Regions from separate parts of the Homo sapiens genome. Here all the other regions are linked to region 7. Evidence: promoter capture Hi-C in 16 types of primary human blood cells and fetal thymus (Javierre and others, 2016). All regions are on one chromosome and are shown on one strand. The core of a region is centred on a gene start or on the middle of the fragment in contact, and the rest is flanking DNA. Distances in the headings are between cores, read along the strand shown. Region 1 has its middle 6.6 kb from the start of COMMD3. Region 2 overlaps THNSL1 (threonine synthase like 1). Region 3 overlaps COMMD3-BMI1 (COMMD3-BMI1 readthrough). Region 4 holds the start of TRN-GTT2-3 (tRNA-Asn (anticodon GTT) 2-3). Region 5 overlaps ARHGAP21 (Rho GTPase activating protein 21). Region 6 overlaps LOC105376447 (a long non-coding RNA gene). Region 7 holds the start of OTUD1 (OTU deubiquitinase 1).

Region 1 (2,700 bases), core at 108-2,607, 1.1 Mb after region 7:
CCTGAGAAGTGTCACAGAAAGCTTATTTAGTGTTTATTTTCTGTGACACAATCCAAGATTCTTTTAGCTACAATGAATTCAACTAAGCTTCATTAGTAAGGCTTGGAAAAGACTGAAAGATCATCTGTTTTGTCCAGAATCTAATCAGTTTCAAGATGTCCTACATTTAGACTACAACAGCAGAGAATGTCTAACAGAGTCTCTTCGTTTTTTAGGTCTGGATTTGGAATCTCTGTGTTTTTTCATACCTTAGAAATTGGAGTTTGGGTTGGTTTCACGAATTCCAGCAAAAAATGGAACAAATGGGCCTATGCTGTGGGATATTATTGTTGAAAGCCAGTAACTTTTTCAAGTTTGTATTTTGAGAACATGCTTTTTACATGTTAAAATGTGTACAAATAAGTATATTTTGTTTAAGGAACTATAATTTTACAAACAAAAATGAAAACAAAAATAAAGGTTTTTGTAGATTAAAACCAAAGTAACAGTATAATTGCTTATAAACTGAAAAATGTAACTATATTCACTTGTCAAATGAAGCATTTTAGAATGGAAGTTAGTATATAAGAAGGGATGATTTGCATTAAATACATTATAAACAGTTAAGGAGACTTTACAGCTAAAGTACTTTTAACTCATTTAAAGTAAGCATTTAAACCAAAATTAATATTTCAAAAGAGCTTACATGGCAATGAAAGCCTAGATAAGTGTTTTAATATTTTTAATTGTGTACAATATTTAAAATGATACTGGTTAAGAATTTAACATTTTGGGCCGGGCGCGGTGGCTCACGCTTGTAATCCCAGCACTTTGGGAGGCCGAGGTGGGTGGATCATGAGGTCAGGAGATCGAGGCCATCCTGGCCAACATGGTGAAACGCTGTCTCTACCAAAAATACAAAAATTAGCCAGGCGTGGTGGCATGCATCTGTAATCCAGCTACTAGGGAGGCTGAGGCAGGAGAATTGCTTGAACCTGGGAGTCGGAGGTTGAGTGAGCCAAGATCGTGCCATTGCACTCCAGCCTGGCAACAGAGTGAGACTCTGTCTCAAAAAAAAAGAATTTAACTTTTCTATTATGGTTGTTATATTCAACAGAATACTGATTTTATCCCCCTTTTCAAATTAAATATAGACTTGAAGCCATTTTATGGATAAGTCAGTCTAAAAACTACATTTTTAAAAATCCTAGTAGAATAATTGTGTTCAGCTTTTTCACATTTGTTACATAGCTAGAACTATTCAGAAAATACTTTGAATTGTTTATACGTAGCTGATTTTTACACCGTGGTGAATGTTTAGAAAGTAGTTTTACAGAGTTTTGAGAAAACAAGCACCTAAAAAAATAGATTAAACTTTTCCACTGTGTTTCTTCCCATATACTCAGTTTTTCCCTGAACTTTTGTTTCATTGTTTTATTAAGGTTAAAACATAAATGTTTTTCTAACTCTCTCAAATGTTATTTTCAAAATTAATTTTCTTTGTGTAAGCATTTTAATCTATATTTTATGAAAGGGGATGGGGAGGCAAGTTTTATAAAATCTTTTTAATGTAACAAAACACCAAGAAAATAATGACTAGCAACAGGTGAAAGGGAGAATTGTATTTATATAGTCAGTTTAGTCCATGTAATTAGAAACTTGGACCTGAATTACTGGCGTAATTACTCAACTTTCTTTTCTTTTTTTCTTTTTTCTTTTTTTTTAATGCTAACAGAAATAGGCCGGATCATTTAGAGCAGCAGTATTCTAAATCAAAATTAATCAGATAATTGGCAACTTTTATTTGACTTTTAGTGCTCTATAAATTACAGACCAAAAACAGGAGAAATTTGCTAAAGAATAACAATGTAGATGGAAATATGTGGGTAAACAAGGCCCTAAGAAAACTGAATTTTCAAATGGTTTTCTTAGAATTTGAAAATGAAAGAAAATTTTAAATTAGGCCTAGCTGTGATATATAGGTGAGTAGTTGATAGATCTATAAGAAAACTTTTATTTTTGCTTAAACAATAATTAAAATGTTTATGAATTGAAATAAAAAATAGTTTTATAAGACCAAAAGTATCAATAAAGACATACATATTTTGTTTTATAAGTTTCAATAGCAATATACATTCTTCTTTATAAAGAACTTTCAACAGTGTATACTGGAAATGTTGGAAAAAAATTGATTTTGCACTTGTCAATTATAATAGAAGGAAAATAATATTCTTACATATGTTTTTATATACTTTTGAAAGTTGCCTTAAATTATTTTTGTAGCAAGATGAACATAAATAAAAATATAAAATACAGATGTTTAGAAGTCAGTTTAACCAATAATTAAAGTGCTTCTAGAAACCTAAAAGAGTGTTTTCAAACGAATACTTTTAAATTAATTTTAATTTCATTTTGGTTTTATTCTATTTCTAAAAGTTGCTATGATCAATATTTGTCTGTTTGTAGAAACTATGACATCTATGATGACAAATGTTCAAACTGAGTCATAATGATAGTCTGTTAGGTTAAAATCAAGAGTCACTACAGGAGAGTAGTCATTTTGCAAACATCCTGCCGTGTTAACAGGGGTTGGGGGAAAGCATATGTCATAAAGTAACAGACTTAAATCTTTAGCTAAGTAAGCTTTAAGTATCTGTCCATTGCTATAAATAGTATAAAGACAATCTAACTGTGTTTGCTTAAGCTTTTTATCTTAGCTTT
Region 2 (2,700 bases), core at 25-2,524, 1.6 Mb before region 7:
CCAAATATGTAGGTACAAGGCAGGGTGCATTTTTTTTATGGTTTGGTTTATAAACCTTCAGAGAATACCGTGGTGTTCACCCACGAATCAAGAACTGTTTTGCCATGCACAGTCTAATCCTTTCCCTGAAGTAAACCAGGGACCAGAAAGAATTATATACTTGAACCATAACATCAATTTATTTTATTAAACCATATTCTGGTACTGGACTTTAAAAGCACAAACTGCTTTTAGGGCACTTACATAAAACAGTCTGATTAACCTCCTATTCAGGAAGCTTTTGCTTGTAACATTACAGTTTCTTCTTTTTGAGTTTGCAATACATAACTTTCTGATACCTGTATTAGTAATAATTGTATATAATCTGAGTAGATGGTTTTCATGAGCAGTAATTTTTTTTTTTTTTTTGAGAAAGGGTCTTCCACTGTCACCCAGGCTGGAGTGCAGTGGCATGATCTCAGCTCACTGCAGCCTCAACCTCCTGGGCTCAGGTGATCCTCCCACCAGGTGTGCATCACCACACCCAGCTAATTTTTGTAGGTTTTCTAGAGACAGGGTTTCACCATGTTGCCCAGACTGATCTCGAACTCCTGAACTCAAGCAATCCTCCCACTTTGGCCTCCCAAAGTGCTGGGATTAGAGGCATGAACCACCATACTGGCCCAGTAAATCTTTCATCTTTTCTTCCGCTTTATATTGCTTGCTACCATGCTTAACATCAACTTCATTAAAAGTAGATTGTAAGGAAACATTATGTTACCTTCACCTTATGTTTTGCAATCTTACTTTTCCTATATGTTAGTTCCCCTCTACCCTCTTGTTTTTAAATTTTACTTCACTTCCCTTTTTCAAGACTTTGGGGTAGATATATATAGATATAGATATAGATATAGATATAGATATAGATATATTTTAAAGAAAATTATGACAGTTCAATTTGTAAATTCTGTATCAATATTATTTCCCACAAACATGTTCCTTAGACTAGCAGAAGGCAGTTAAGTGCTATAATATATATTATTTCTAAAGAACAATAAAGATATATTCTATTTTAAGCTACATACTAAATTTTATTTTGTAACATTTAACCACAAATTGATTTTAGGGGCTCAACATTTTTTAACCAACCAAATGAGGAAAAGACATCCTCATTTCTTTTTTGAGAACGTCTGCTGCAATGGCCACTCGGGAATATACATAGAAGGCATATATATGGACTTCACCAAAGCATTACACATGGTTCATTTAAAATTTTTTTAATTCACGGAGAAATGGAAAAAAAAGATTTGAGGATATTGTTGAATGATCATAAAAATGGTTCTGTTGAATAGAGGGAAATTTCTGGTAGTGCACTCCAAGGCTTTTGGTCTTGACACTCTTCTCTTTCATGTGTTTAACAATTATTTGGATTAAGCATTGAGAGGGATATTGGATAATTAGCAGTTAATAGGACTGACTTTAGAGTGAGAAAAATCTGCAGATGTGCAAGTCCTTTATATAAAATGGTGTAGTATTTGCATATAACCTGTGCACATCCTCCTGTATACCTTAATCTCTGAATAACTTATAATACATAATACAATGCAAATGCTAGGTACAGAGCTGTTGTACTAATTTGCTTTTTTGTTTGTGGTATTTTTACTGTTCCATTATTTTCGTGTTTTTGTTTGTTTTTCAGACAGGCTCCCACTCTGTTGCCCAGGCAGGAGTGCAGTGGCACAATCTTGGCTCACTACAGCCTTGACTTCCTAGGCTCAAGCAATCCTCCCACCTCAGCCTCCCAAGTAGCTGGGACTAAAGGCACGCACCACCACACCCAGCTAATTTTAGTATTTTTAGTAGAGAGGGGGTTTCGCCATGTTGCCCAGGCTGGTCTCCAACTCCTGGGCTCAAGCAGTCTTCCTGCCTTGGCCTTCAAAAAGTGCTTGGATTGCAGGTATGAGCCACTGTGCCCAACTAAAATTTTAAAATATTTTCAATCTGTAATTAGTTGAATCTGAGAATGGGAAATTCACAGATATGGAGAACTAACTGTGTATCAGGACACAAACTAGCCAAAAGGAGGTTAAGCTCTACTGCTTCTGACTTCTGACCAAAAATTCTCTCAAACTTTTCATTCAGAGGGCCTCCCACTTGCCATGAAACAGAGGTGAGGGTGGAAGGACCACACAATCCAGTATAGTTCTGTAATCACAAGGATCTCACAACTAAAACAATTTTGCAAGTTCATCACTTAGTCTTTATATTACTATCAAAGCTGACTAAGCTTTTTCTGCCGTTAGACTTCTGCTGTTAGACATATTCTTAACGATCTCGAATATTTAATTGAAAACTTTAGTATCCACAATTCTATAACTTTGAGAATTATAAAGAACCTGTCTTTATAAAGGGTTTATTTACCTTCCAATTGTCTTATATACTCATCTACACCCATTTTATTCATTTAAATAGATTAAAATAATCCTTCGCAAAAAAAAAAAAAAAAAAAACAACTCTCATTTGTTTATGTACATCACAGGCATACCATTATATACGGGGATCTAGGATCTGTGCAAACTACAATCCACAGGCTAAATCTGGCCCACCATCATTTTCATAAATCAAGTTTCTTTGAAGCACAACTTCAGTCATTCATGTGCTCACATATTTGTTCAGTACCGTCTTTGGCTGCTTTTGAGCTACAATGGCAAAACTGAGTAG
Region 3 (2,700 bases), core at 50-2,549, 1.1 Mb after region 7:
GAATAATCTCTTTAAATTCATTTTCTAAGCAAGTTACTCACTTTTGAAAAGCCCTGGAACTAATTTGTATACAATATCTTGGAGAGTTTTATCTGACCTGAAAAATAATTAAAATAGAAAACTATGAATTCAGATGGCAAGAACTAAAAATGTTCATAAGTTTCTATAGTCTTCTTTTGTGCTATAATATTTTACTTGATTGTGATGCTGTCTATAACTATTATTGATAAGATAAAAACTATGAGAATAAAAGTTCTCTGTATATAGCACTTTTTAAATCAGTAGAAAAATATTTTATATTCACTAATAAATTCTTCACATTTGCTCTGTCAAAAGAAGTGTGCCTTTCAAGTTACTAAACTAGCTAATATGAATAGGGAATAAAGAGGAATGGAAGCCCTTTTAAATATTTATTCCTGCCTGTCATGAAGTCCATAAAGCAATGCAAAAAAGGTGAACTAACTCAGTTTTTAAAGGACAGTTAGGAAAAAAAAATCTTAAAATCACTTGAATACTACTAAACTTTGTCTAAACTTGGTCACCATTAATATGGCAAGAAATTAAACGGCTACCCTCCACAAAGCACACACATATTAGTTATGTATTCAAGAGTAAATTTTCTGTGAAGAAATAAAGAGGGTTGCCTTCAGTAAATTATACAACTCCAATAATAATTACAAACAAGGAATTTCAACAGTTTCCTACCTTATATTCAGTAGTGGTCTGGTCTTGTGAACTTGGACATCACAAATAGGACAATACTTGCTGGTCTCCAGGTAACGAACAATACACGTTTTACAGACTAGAAGTAGAACATGTGAAGTTTTTTTATGTTTAGAAATGAGTGGATAAATCATTGGTGTTAGAAACCCAGAACTAGTAGAAAACAAGATGGTGAAAGGCATTTCCAACTAAATAAGCTAATTCATATCCTGAGAACACATATATTGCATGCTTGTAATACAATCAATACATATTAACAAAAAGTCATTAGATGCAAGAGAAGAAAATGCCTTCACCACTTTGTACCAACATTTCCACAGATTGCAGGAATCATTAACAGTTTTCAAATTCCAGGTCGAACTGTGAAATACGCATGATACAAAAGAGAGCTAAAGCTCGGTACTTACAGGAATGTAGACATTCTATTATGGTTGTGGCATCAATGAAGTACCCTCCACAAAGCACACACATCAGGTGGGGATTTAGCTCAGTGATCTTGATTCTCGTTGTTCGATGCATTTCTGCTTGATAAAAAATCCTGCAAGACACAGAAATAATGGCCATAATTCACAGAACAAGAATGGAGATCATCTAGTAATCACAAACCCTGAAACACTGAATTTATAAAACTCATTTAACACTGTACAGCTGGGCTGTCCTAACGTTTCTACAGAAGGAATTTACTCATCAGATCGGAATCAGTTCTACCAAACTGATGCAAAAGGATCCAACTAACATTACTTCTGGTCTCTCAGATCATTCCTGTAGGTAGAAGAAAGTCTGGGGTGGGGGCTGGGAGCTGAGCGTATTAGGGTCTCTTTCTTCCATTTGTCCTCCAGCCCAGCAGCCCCAAGGCTGCTGCAGACGCCACACAATCCCCGCGGATATTTACCAACCACTAGGGCTTGTTCCAGGTCTCCGAATTTATTATAAAACTTCCTCAAGAATCTGCAAGTGAAAATCCGGGGTTCCGGTTGTTTTAGACGGTTCCAGCAAGCAGAACCTGGCACGTTTTTACGCGACGCGCAGGGAAAACAATTCTGCCCTCCCTGCATCCCTGGCATTTCCGGAGCCGGGTGCTGGGGCCGCAGGAGGAGCACCTCCAGTCGGCCTGGGCCGGGGCCTGAGCGCGGCGGACGCCCGGGGGCCGGGATGCGAGGGGCGGATCCGGCGGCGCCCGGGGCTCCGTCTCGCTCCGGATTCGGAACTCGCCTCGGTCGGGGTTTCCATAGCAACTTACACTTACACTTGGCATCCGGCCACCGCTGCAACTCCGCGCGGAGCCCGGCCCGAGCCCCGAGCCTCGGCGGGCGTGCGGGGCGGCGGGCGGGCGGGCGGGCGGGGGAGGGGCGGCGCGCCGCGGGGGCGGGGCCGGCGCGGGGGCGGGGTGGGTGCGGCGACGCCGGGGGGGCGGGGCAGCCCCACGAGGCCACAGCGCTGGGGAGCGGGGAGCGGGGATCGGGGACCAGGGACCCAGTCCTGGGCGGCGGGGACCCCGGAGCCTGCGGCAGCGCCCGCGAAAGGAAAATGCAAACCGCACTCCCGGCCATTTCGGACACTCCGGGGGCCTCTTTTCACGTCGACTTGGTGCGCAGAGCTGGTTTCAGATCTCGACTCTCTCGGTCTGTCCTGTCTGCAATCACTCGGTCAGAAATTTCACGAAGGGATTTTTTGAGAATTGCCAACTGTGCACTTAGCCCGAAACCGTCAGGGCTCAAATTGCAGAGATGTTTATTGAACCGAACCTCTTTAAAACTTCCTTCTCTAATGTGACGCTCTCCTGTAGATTAAATGAGCGATACAAAGTTTTGGAAAGGCTGAAAACTGAAATCTGTTTTACAAGAAGAGGAGAGGGCAAAGCCCAGTGTTTTATTTGGACAAACTATGCTGGGGGCAAGAAAAAGTACTTTAATCGGTACAATAGTGACAATATGTACAGAACCATGTGACCAGCCCATTTCCAACGCTAAATCAACA
Region 4 (2,700 bases), core at 164-2,663, 1.2 Mb after region 7:
CAAATTGTTCGAAACAAAGGGAAAGTTTCTCAGCTCACAAGATGAAAGCTTTGATTTTCTCATAAAAGAAAACTAATAAGAAATAGTTATTTTCCTGAAATACAACGTTCCAAATGGGAGTTGGCGGGGGGGAGCAACAGTATTTTAATACATTTTGCAATCTGCAATGCTGCTTGATTTTGTTGTATAATTTTGCGATATGCTTAAAAGGTGGAAAATAGAATTAAGAGGGTTGGAAACGTGAAGTAAAATATTTTGGTTCTGATAGTACCAATCAGAAAGCAGAAACAGCCACACACTGCCTTTATTATTCTTCATAAAGGCTGAGGCAGAAGGGGAAAATGACACCGAAGTCTCTGTGGCGCAATCGGTTAGCGCGTTCGGCTGTTAACCGAAAGGTTGGTGGTTCGAGCCCACCCAGGGACGCGCTCTCCTTTTATGAGCTGGTCGCGGGAAGTTTTGCAGAAATCGAGTTCAGGCCTCCGGGATAAGAAGGGGTGGATTTCCAGGGACCAAGCAAAGAAACCACCGACCCTTACACTACGCGGCCAGCCGGCGAGCCCTTCGCTTTCGGCCGGTGCAGAGCGGCCTCCTCTCCCCCGCTGTCCTCTCCCGGCTGCAGGTGAGCGCGGCCACTCCTTCCCCGGGGTCTTCACGGCGGTCTAGGCCTCGCCAGGGTGCTGGAGCGGGGACGCGCAGAGGCCGCGCGGGCCCGTTTGCCGCGCGCGCCCGCCGCTCCAGCTCTGCGCGTCCCCGGAGGCCCGCGCGTACACGGGGAAGGCGGCCCGGGCTGGTCTTGCTCGGCTTCGTGACGCGTGAAATGTAACGGGGCCACCGAAATGCATGTATTTCAACAGTGTCAAGTTCAAGCTGCAAACTGAAAACTCCTACATTTTGTTGAAGCATGGCCGCCCTTTTGTCTGTTCCCTGTCAGCGTAAACATCTCCGTTTGCGACTTAAACATTAATTGTTCCTGGTATTAATGCCTTCAGAAATAATTTTTGTGTAGTAAATCTTTCGTGTGGACAATATTGTAAGAATATATATTATATTTTACTTTTTCTACTAAAACGCTTGAATTTAGTAGAGAATAGAATAAGCCTGCAACACTTCCCATCAAGGCGGAAAAGGAGAAAACCTCTTTTACAATAGTATGACTGTTAAACCTGAAAAAAAAGAATGATGAGAAAGATTGAATGTGAAGCTGCTACCATACTTTGCTTCAACTTTCTACTTTCAACGTCCCCTACCTTTTATTTCCCCAAATGCAAAGCCCTCTCAAAATAGTTTCCTTCTATTTTATTACTTTGAGAAATAATCATAGTTTCATCATAATAATTATTGTTTTGGCTTGGACTACAGAAAATTGAAAGACAGTTTTGAAGAAAAGTGTAAGAACTAATACATCTTATTCCTGTGGATATATTGTTTTATATTCGTTATGTTTCAGCTCAGTTGACATATTAATAAAGGCTTATTTTATTGAGTGCTTTCGTGGAGAAAGGTATGTAATCTTCATAAGTCTTCCAGGTCCTATTATTGCCATTGTACAGATGAGGCAACTGAGGCACAGTGCGACTGAGTAAATAGCTGAGTAATTTGCCGGAAGTCACAGTGAGTTTGGAACCTGGGTAGTCAGGCCCAAGCCCAAGCTCCTCCCTGATGTACTGCCTTCTTGGAAGTTCCTTCCTCTAAAATACAGCTACCTAATTAGTTAATTTGAAACCAAAAGATACTTGAATTGGTTTTTATGAAGTTTCGTTAATATTTTGCTCCAAATCTTGTAAAGGGGGTAAAATAAAAACCAACACAACATTTGTGGCGTGCTAAAGGGCATTGTTAAATTATGCATTCATTGGGCTGCTCAATTTTATTCAAATGAAAGCTGTGTGTGCATAGGAAGTATTCCTGGGGAATCTGTCTTAGGGAAACAATTTGTTAGCATTTAGGTACAGAAGGCAAGATGAGAGAGAGAGGCAGGCAAAATCTGGAAGGAGACAGATTCAGGATAGATTCAGGCCATGGAGTCTAGAGACTAAGGATTCTTTGACCCCAAGCTGATGTTTGGGAATTGGCACATCCACGTAGACCCCTGTTTCAGGACACTTTTGTGAGATAGTACCAGAATTTGTACTTGACCAGGGGCCTAGGTGGCAGTTTAAAATTTGATCTTAAATTTCTAAATACATTCTATTTCACCCTATTTTGGGTATTAATATGATTTAGAGACCAGAAAATGGAGGAGAATTAAATGGGAATGGAGGTGTCACACTGAGTGCAAAACTCCCCTCTAATGTAAGCAGAAGCAGTTGCTGTGATTATGTGGACAAGTGCTTAGGCCATTTCCTTGGCTCTTGCAGGCAGGTAAGATAGGTGGGTCCCAGTGTGGGTGGCTGACACCGGTAGTCTCAGCACTTTAGGAGGCCAAGGCAGGAGGATTACTTGAGCCCAGGAGTTGGAGACCAGCCTGGGCGACAGAATGAGACAGCATCTCTACACAAAATAAAAAATTAACCCAGCATGGTGATCACTTCATTGCACTCCAGCGTGGGTGACAGAGTGAGACCCTGTCTCAAGAAAAAAAAAAAGGTAGGTGGGCAACAATTTGGAAGAATTGCACAAATATTTATGGATGCATTGGCCTTATAAAATTTCAACGTGTCATGGTTGTTGATGTTGCAATAAATGCTATTTCTGAGG
Region 5 (2,729 bases), core at 106-2,605, 1.2 Mb before region 7:
GTGATAGATATTCCTTTATTAAGTAACTTCCTTTAAGCCATCTTGGTGCATACACTATGGTAACAATTCAGTTTTATATGGCAATAATTATGAACTCTTTGTATTTGACACTCAATCATTTTTTGCCCAGTATTGCTGTTTAACAAGTAGTATCATGTTACTCAACACATGTATATGCCTTATTTTCTCAGTTACATTCTTCTTTAAGGGTCAGGACTGTGTCTTCTACTTCAGTGATTCTCAAACTTAAGTGTGCATCACAATCACCTCAGAGTTTCTGATTCAGGAGATCTAGGGTGGGGTCCACAAATTTGCATTCCTAACATATTCCCAGGTGATACTGATGCTGCTGGTCCTGGGACCACACCTTTAGAACTACCGTGTACCTCCTTCTTCCCCCACAATACTTATGCTGTTTGTCACTTAGCTTAAATGTCCTCTCATCTGCGAATTTTTCCTTGACTTCTATTTCACTGAAACAACTAGTTGTTCTCAAAATTTAATGTGTATTAGGATCATCTGGGAAACTTGTTGACAGAGCAGATTTCTGGTCAGACTCCAAAACATCCATTTTTAGCAAACACCTTAGATGTTAATGCCAATGATCCATGGAAAACAGCTTGTGAAATTCTGACTTACGGGGTTGATCATGCTCTCCTCATTGCCATGACTGTATTTTGTATTTGTCTCTGATTGTTTTTTATACTATACTGTTATTTGTTTGTATGTCTTTCTCCTCCTACCAGACTCCCTGAAGGGAAAGGAATATGTCTTGTTCATTGTTACATTTTAATGCTTAGCACAATGCAGTATTAAGAAGCAGTAGAGGCTGGGCACGGTGGCTCACGCCTGTAATCCCAGCACTTTGGGAGGCCAGGGCGGGTGAATCACGGGGTCAGGAGTTCGAGACCAGCCTGGCCAATATGGTGAAACCCCGTCTCTACTAAAACATACAAAAATTAGCAGGCGGGGTGGTGTACACCTGTAGTCCCAGCTACTCAGGAGGCTGAGGCAGGAGAATCACTCGAACCCGGGATGTGGAGGTTGCAGTGAGCCAAGATTGCACCACTGCACTCCAGCCTGGGTGACAGAGTGAGACTCCATCTCAAAAAAACAAAACAAAACAAAACAAAACAAAAAACAAAAGCCATGGAGTGAGTACCGCCTGTGTAATCATCTTTGGCACTTGTTAGCTGTTTGACCTTGGAGACTTTATTTAATCCCTCTAAGCTTCAGTTTCCTCTTTTATGAATGGTAGTAGTAGTACTTACTTGCTGTGGAAATTAGCTCTGAGATACAGTATTTAGTGTGGCAACTGACATACGGAATGTAGCCAGTAAATGGAAAGCATTACAGTGTTGTGGTTGTCATTATGTTATGGAAGAAGCAAAATAAATGTTTGAATTAAATGAAAACCCCTACATTATAATTTTAGCATCCAAATTCAGGATATGTATTTAATATTTCATTAAAAAGCTTTGCTTAATTCTCTCAAATACTATTTTATATTTAGGTATTTTAGTAAAGTATTGTGAAGTAAAATCATGCTTTGGGCTTCTCTGTAACAGGAAAACAAAGAAACCGCTTGGAACCAATGGATACCATATTTGTTAAGCAAGTTAAAGAAGGAGGACCTGCTTTTGAAGCTGGATTATGTACAGGTGCTGATATTCTTCTTTAAACAATACGTTTTAATTTCTTTTTCACTTTATTTCTTCCATATTTCATGTTCGATATTTTTTCCTTTTGTATCTTTCTGTATGCTTCTTCCTTTTCCTTCACATCTGTTGTTACTAATTTTGAGAACTAATTATGTTTCTTGGTGCCCATATGAATGGGTTTGAACAGAAATAACAATATAAATTGATACACTGTGAGCACTTTTAATTACCACACAGATGATAGACTCTTAGAGGCTCTTTAAAGGAACAAATTTTGCATGCATTGAATTTTGACAAAGGATTACAAAGTAGCAAAATGATGAAGGTATTTATTTGATATAAGTGAAATAATCTTGGATTTTCAAGTTCTGGAAGTGCCTGATCTGACAGAGTTGAGTTAATTAATTTGCAGCACAAAGTGGCTTAAGTCTCCAATGCGGAACATAAGCCTGGCTTCATCTGAAGGTGTCAGTATATGTGGCTTAATTGGCTGGATATAGTAGCTGTTTGTTCTAAAATGTTTTGTGATTTGTGATTTTAATAAACCCTAAGTAGAGATTTCATTTATATTAGTGCACACTCTAAAATACTCTTTTCTTTTGTTTTTTAAACATTAGACAATTTAAAATGGGAATTATTGAAAAGCTATATTTCACTGCCTTTTAAATACAATGCTATATTTTCACCTACAAATATTAGAAAGTAGTGGACATCATTGCTAAGATTTATAAGGATGTACTGTTAATGTATTACCCACCTTAGTTTTTTTTATTATACTTAAAGTAAGCCTGATTTAAATATCATTAATATGTATAATATGTATATTAGTATGCATGTGGGATTTCTTTAGAATGTATCATCTGTCGTATTTTAAGCCCCACATGATTGGGAAGATGAAGTGGAGATATGCTGTGATAAGCACACAAAAAGTACATTTTTGCCTATTTTCTTCTTTCCTCTGTTCTTTGTTTCTGTCTTTTCCTTTCCTACTCTACTCAGAGTAGAAAGAGAATTGCTTGAACCCGGGAGGCAGAGGTTGCAGTAAGCCGAGATTGCACCACTGTACTC
Region 6 (2,700 bases), core at 135-2,634, 1.2 Mb after region 7:
TCCCAGCTACTCGGGAGGCTGAGGCAGGAGAATCGCTTGAACCTGGGAGGCAGCGATTGCAGTGAGCCGAGATCGCGCCACTGCACTCTAGCCTGGCAGCAGAGTTATCTCTGTAACTCTCCATCTCAAAAAAAAACAAAAAAAATTGAAAGGAAATATAGAATTTGTAGTATGAAAGGATTTCTTAAACAAAACATTAAAATACACAATCCATTAAGGAAATGATCAATTGGATGACAGTCATGCTCCAAATAATGATATGTTAGTCAATACATGATAATAGTCCCATAAGGTTATAATATTGTATATTTACTGTACCTTTTCTATGTGTAGATGTGTCTAATTATACAAATACCATTGTGTTACAATTGCCTACAGTATTCAATACAGTCACATGCTGTACAGGTTTGCAGCCTAGGAGCAATAGGCTTGTACCATATACAAACCATCTAGGTTTGTGTAATTACACTCTATGATGTTAGCATGACAAAACTGCCTATGGACCTATTTCTCAGAATATGTCCCTGTAGTTGAGTGCCATGTGACTGTATATAAAAATTTTTAAAAATACTTTTTACATGACAAAAGATATCATAAAATGTTACAAGATAAACTGAGAAGATATTTTCAAGGCATGTACTTGGTGAAGGATTCATATTCAAAATGTATAAATAACTTATATAGAAAGAATTTACTAATTTATGTATAATGAATTTCATAAATAAAAGATGTGGGCCAGGATATATACATATGAAGTGAAAGTATAGTACTATCAATAGGATGAATACATATCAACTTCAAAAAATGTAATTTCCTTTGGGATAGAAAGAAAGAAGGAAGGAGGGGGAATAGGAAGAGGGCAACAACTTCCTGCCCAGGGGGCAACAACTCTTTTTTTTTTTTTTTTTGAGACAGAGTCTTGCTTTTGTCCCCCAGGCTTGAGTACAATGACTCGATCTCGGCTCACTGCAACCTCCGCCTCTCGGGTTCAAATGATTCTCCTGCCTCTGCCTCCCAAGTAGCCAGTTAAGGCACCTGCCACCATGCCCGTCTAATTTTTGTGTTTTTTAGTAGAGACGGAGTTTCACCATTTTGGCCAGGCTGGTCTCGAACTCCTGACCTCAGTTGATCCGCCCACCTCAGCCTCCCAAAGTGCTGGGATTACAGGCATGAGCCACTGCGCCCAGCCCACAGCAATTCTTTATAAAAAGATCAGAGGCAACTATGGGAAGACATTAACACTTTTTGTTCTTTGTAGATTGTTAAAAGCTTGTTATAATTTATTTAAAAATCTCTAACATCAATTCCTAGTCTAAAGAATGAACAAATGACACATTTCTTTTCCTTAGTCAATAATAATCTTGTAAGATGGTGTTCACGTGCTTTTCTTTGAGGGCAAAGAAAACACCATTCCCCAGTGTTTTTCCTGGGCAGTGTTTGAATATTATATGATACTCACAGCAGAGATTTTCCTAGTTTGGCTTCTGTTGTAAGCTTGTTTTCTGAGTAGATTTAAATGAGAAGAACAGAAACATATTTGAAACTATGACTATGTATAAGAGCATTTATTCTCCTATAATGAAATCGTGGAAAATGTTTTTAAAAAGTGAGCAAACAAAAACCTCCACACCATTATAGAAACACGGTTAAAAAACTATTGAATAATCTCAAGCCTAGTGTGTAATAATTATTAAGTGTGTCTAATTTGTTGTGCTAAGTGTCAGGAATTGGTATTGTGGAAGGATATGTGAGATCTCATTTTCTCCTTTTATATGGCAGGAGTTTATACAGTATTTACATCTGTCATTGATACTTTTTATGAACAGAAGTTTTGTTTACTTATAACTTCCACAGGGATTATTCATATGGAGCACTGGAAAGATGTAACATTTCATTTGCTTTGATACCTTGTGTTTATTTTAGGTCGAAAAGCATCATGAAGCCAAGTGGTTATTGTTTTGCTTATTCAGTGTGAACTGAGTGAGCCAGGTTTGTATACCAAGTGATTCTCGTGGTGGACAATACCAATATGATTATGCCAAATGCATTGCTTCTGAGGCATCACTCTTTGGGCACATATAGACCCTGCTGATTTCTGCCAAAGCACTCTTCTTAAAGTTCCAAAACATTACCCCAAAACCTCTATAGCCCCCTATTGCCAACAAAATTAAAGCCTTTCTCTTCATTGGCATTAGAAGCCCCTGTAACCCATTGCTTTTCCATTTCCAGCCTCTTTCCAAAATTACCAAACAAACTCTGTATCCTGCAGCCACCAAACTGTACTAGTTGTAATATATTCACTAAGAACAGTGGTCTCTCATTTGTCTCTCTTTTCTCTCTTCTTATATCAGTTAGAATGTAACAGACAACCCAGCTAACACAGAGGCTCATTTTTCTTATGTGACAAGAAGTCTGTAGATAAAGAGTTGCTAGTGTTTTCTTGGGGGTTCAGTGATATCACCTCTGTGATTCAGTTGACCTTCATATCATAGTTGCAAAATGGCTGCCGTAAGTACAAAAACCACACTGACTGCTGGGTGGGAAGGCAACAGAAAATTTGTTCTTGGTGAGTCTTACTCACGTCAAGGAAGTATAATATTTTCCAAAATGCCCCACCAAAGGATTTCCTCTTACATCATATTAGCCAGAACTGGGACATATTATCACCCTTTATCTGGGGTAGAGGCCCACATTTCCACA
Region 7 (2,710 bases), core at 80-2,579:
GAATGATGTGGAATCGGTACTTATTCCTCTGCCGCAGATACTTGTCCTGCTTCTCCACCTCGGCCAGGTATAGGGCCAGCTTCTCGTCTCTGGGATCCGACCTGGAGACGATCACCGGCTCCGCCGCACTACTCGGGGCGGCCTCGATGCTCCCGGCGGGGGGTGCCTCGGCCTCTGGGTCGGGCCTCCGCGCCGCGTCCCCACCGGGCGCGTCGCAGCGATCGCCGCCCCTCTCCCAGCCCCTGGGGCCCCTCTCCGCCAAGTGCTCTTCGCCCCACGGACCGGGGCCGGGATCGGGGCTCCCCGGGGTCGCCGCGGGGCCTCGGTGCTTGGCGGCGGCCAGGGCCTGGCGGTGCTCGCTCAGTCGGAAGTTCCGATCGGGCCCCTCCCGTGTCGCGTCCAAGCCCGCGGGCTCGGGGCAGTCGGGCCGCAGCAGCTCCTCCAGGAGCCAGGCCGAGGAGCCCCGCCGCGGCGGGACCGGGGCTGCGGGCGCCGGGGCGAGCAGGAGGCAGCGGCCGCGCGGGGCAGCGGCGGAGCCCGCGGCGCCGGGAACGGGATCGGGCCCGTGCAGCAGGAGCCTGTCGGCGCCCAGGGCCCGCACGGTGATCTGTGCGGTGGACGTGTAGTGCGGCGGCAGCGGCGGCTTGCAGGACGCGCCGGGCGGGCCGGCGGCGGCGGAGGCGGGCGCGGCGGCCCCGGACACCACCTCGAAGCAGGAGGAGAAGGCGGGCATCTTGGCGGCGGGGACAGCGGCGGCTTCCCGGTGCTCGGCGGCCGCGGCGGGCTGGCACTCACCGGTCTCGGGCTCGGGCGCGGCGCCGGCGGCTCCCGGGGGCTGCAGCGAGACCTTGAAGGGGGTAGCGGCGGCGGGTGGCGCGGGGGCGGCGGCCGTGGGACCCGGGGCCCCGGCGGGGTAGTGGGTGCAGACGCTGCTGTAGAGCTGCATGTCCCTGCCCGCCGCTCGGCCCCTTATAGGCGCGGCGAGCCCCGGAGCGGGGGACACACCCTCCGGGCCCGGGGGAGGGGGCCGGCGGAGCGCGGTGACCCAACGGCCCCAGAATAGAGATGAGCGAAAGGCAGCCGGCCGCCGCGAGTCAGCAGCCGCGAATAGCGCCCGGGTCCCGGCCAAATTCCTGCTGCGCCACAGCGCAGGGGGGCGGGGACGGGACGCGAGCTCGACCCCTGCCGGTGCGCTCGGCCCGCAGACCCGGGGCGCCGCGCCCGCTGCAGCTGCTTCGGCCCGCGGCGGCCGCTGGGGACTCACGGAGGAAGCCGCCCGCCCCGTTGGAGCGCGTCCCGCCGGCGAGGAGGAGCGCGGTGCGCGCGGAGGCCCGGGAGGCGGGGCCGCGGTTGTTTACCTCAGGCCTCGCGGCCGCGTCACGTGGACTCACTGGAATGCGCGGCTCTTTGCGGCGCCCGATTCAGTCGCGCCTGCTCGCCCCGCCCACTCCGGCCCGCGCCCCGCCCCCTACCGCGCTCCGCCGACGTCACGGGCGTGGCCCTCGGCGCGCGAGCGCGCGCGGGCGGGGCGAGGCCGGGGGCGCGGAGGCCTGAGCAGTCCTGGGATCCTGGCTGGGCCTCCCGCCCACGTGACTCCCACGGACCGCTTCCCCCACCTGGGCACTGGGCACTGGTTTCTGCGCTGCGCCACTCTCCTCAGCGGCTGCAGTGGATGCTGCGGGATGGGAGCTGCTTGGGGCGAGTTAGCATGCTCGGAAAGCTTGCGTGGCAGGAAAGCTTCCGGCATGGGTGTGGAGAACGGAATGCTGCCTTAAAGTCTGTTTGGCCTCTGCTGGTCATGGGCTACCATCCCTGCTTGCATTCACTACTGCCTCTTTTCTTTTATCTTTTTAGAGATGGGGGTCTTACCTGTCTCCGAAGCTAGAGTGTAGTGGCGCAGTCCATAGCTCACTGCAGCCTTGACTTCCCGGGCTCAAGCGATCCTCCCGCCTCAACCTCCAGAGTAACTGGAAACCACAGGTGTGCACCACCGCACCCGGCTAATTTTCTTTCTTTCTTTCTTTCTTTTTTTTTAAGGCGAGGGTCTCACCACAGTTGCCCAGTCTGGTGTCGAACTACTGGCCTCAAGCTGTTTCCCGCCTCGACCTCCTAAAGTGTTGGGATTATGGGTCCTAGCCACCACTCGTGGAACCGCCGCGTCTTTTCCTTTTTTTTTTTTTCTTTTTCTTTTTGAGGCAAGGTCTTGCTCTGCCTTCCAGGCTGAGTGCAGTGGCGCCATCATGTCCCACTGCGACCTCGACCTCCAGGGCCCAAGTGATCCCCCTTCCTCAGCCTTGCCTTGGGCAGGGATTACAGGTGCCCAGCTAGTTTTACCACTGTGTCTTTTCTATGCATTTCCTTGGACTCACCGGTAAGGGTGAGTCCGCTAGTGGATTCTCTTGCCTTGCTAAGACAAAACCAACTTTGCACCTCTGACCTATGCCATTTGGCAAATATCTGGCTTGGGGGAAAGCAAGGAAGCCTTTTAGGCTTTTATAAACAAGCTTTCTCAGAATACCAAATGCAGTATCACTTAGGGCCCTTTGAGAATAGGTGTGAATGCTAGCCAGAGGTCAAAAGCGGTGGAGAAAGTCGTGACCTGCATTCCGGGGCAAGATAGACTATAGAAAATACTTCTACCGAGTCTTTTTGTAATACCCGCCTTTGTAAGGGAAAGCCAGAGGTAGTGGGAGACTTTTGCTATATTCTG

What was found. The method cuts DNA at HindIII sites, captures the fragments that hold promoters and counts their contacts. A CHiCAGO score of 5 or more calls a contact.
Region 1: a contact is called between a fragment that was not itself captured here and the fragment with the promoter of OTUD1 in region 7, in 1 of 17 cell types (total B cells). The highest score is 5.5, in total B cells.
Region 2: a fragment that was not itself captured here is called in contact with the fragment with the promoter of OTUD1 in region 7 in 1 of 17 cell types (non-activated CD4 T cells); the score reaches 5.3 in non-activated CD4 T cells.
Region 3: a fragment that was not itself captured here is called in contact with the fragment with the promoter of OTUD1 in region 7 in 1 of 17 cell types (total B cells); the score reaches 5.2 in total B cells.
Region 4: a contact is called between a fragment that was not itself captured here and the fragment with the promoter of OTUD1 in region 7, in 1 of 17 cell types (total B cells). The highest score is 6.9, in total B cells.
Region 5: a contact is called between a fragment that was not itself captured here and the fragment with the promoter of OTUD1 in region 7, in 1 of 17 cell types (total CD8 T cells). The highest score is 5.1, in total CD8 T cells.
Region 6: a contact is called between a fragment that was not itself captured here and the fragment with the promoter of OTUD1 in region 7, in 1 of 17 cell types (non-activated CD4 T cells). The highest score is 5.4, in non-activated CD4 T cells.

What each region holds. Positions count from the first base shown.
Region 1 is chr10:22,308,403-22,311,102 of GRCh38, reverse strand. No RefSeq gene overlaps it. Among named protein-coding and RNA genes, the nearest start is that of COMMD3, 6.6 kb to the left of the region's middle. The HindIII fragment of the contact is 2,535 bases long and covers 90-2,624 here.
Region 2 is chr10:25,018,449-25,021,148 of GRCh38, reverse strand. The region is part of intron 1 of THNSL1 (threonine synthase like 1); the gene reads right to left. It also overlaps a transcript of ENKUR not described here. Among named protein-coding and RNA genes, the nearest start is that of THNSL1, 3.2 kb to the right of the region's middle. The HindIII fragment of the contact is 1,989 bases long and covers 280-2,268 here.
Region 3 is chr10:22,324,992-22,327,691 of GRCh38, reverse strand. It overlaps COMMD3-BMI1 (COMMD3-BMI1 readthrough), which reads right to left. Exons shown (of 14, transcript NM_001204062.2): 6 at 1,131-1,261; 7 at 706-802; 8 at 42-97. It overlaps BMI1 (BMI1 proto-oncogene, polycomb ring finger), which reads right to left. Exons shown (of 10, transcript NM_005180.9): 2 at 1,131-1,261; 3 at 706-802; 4 at 42-97. The coding sequence starts at 1,242. Among named protein-coding and RNA genes, the nearest start is that of BMI1, 5.2 kb to the right of the region's middle. RefSeq lists a silencer at 1,776-2,155. The HindIII fragment of the contact is 3,267 bases long and covers 1-2,700 here.
Region 4 is chr10:22,227,235-22,229,934 of GRCh38, reverse strand. TRN-GTT2-3 (tRNA-Asn (anticodon GTT) 2-3) reads left to right here and starts at 353; the gene lies at 353-426. RefSeq lists a silencer at 652-901. The HindIII fragment of the contact is 2,726 bases long and covers 51-2,700 here.
Region 5 is chr10:24,633,943-24,636,671 of GRCh38, reverse strand. It overlaps ARHGAP21 (Rho GTPase activating protein 21), which reads left to right. Exons shown (of 26, transcript NM_020824.4): 5 at 1,569-1,661. Among named protein-coding and RNA genes, the nearest start is that of ARHGAP21, 89 kb to the left of the region's middle. The HindIII fragment of the contact is 246 bases long and covers 1,233-1,478 here.
Region 6 is chr10:22,247,029-22,249,728 of GRCh38, reverse strand. LOC105376447 (a long non-coding RNA gene) reads left to right here. Exons shown (of 2, transcript XR_001747390.3): 2 at 1-2,309. Among named protein-coding and RNA genes, the nearest start is that of TRN-GTT2-3, 19 kb to the right of the region's middle. The HindIII fragment of the contact is 225 bases long and covers 1,272-1,496 here.
Region 7 is chr10:23,437,694-23,440,403 of GRCh38, reverse strand. It overlaps OTUD1 (OTU deubiquitinase 1), which reads right to left and starts at 1,329. Exons shown (of 1, transcript NM_001145373.3): 1 at 1-1,329. The coding sequence starts at 946. RefSeq lists silencers at 111-480, 621-960, 1,011-1,600. The HindIII fragment of the contact is 7,031 bases long and covers 1-1,722 here.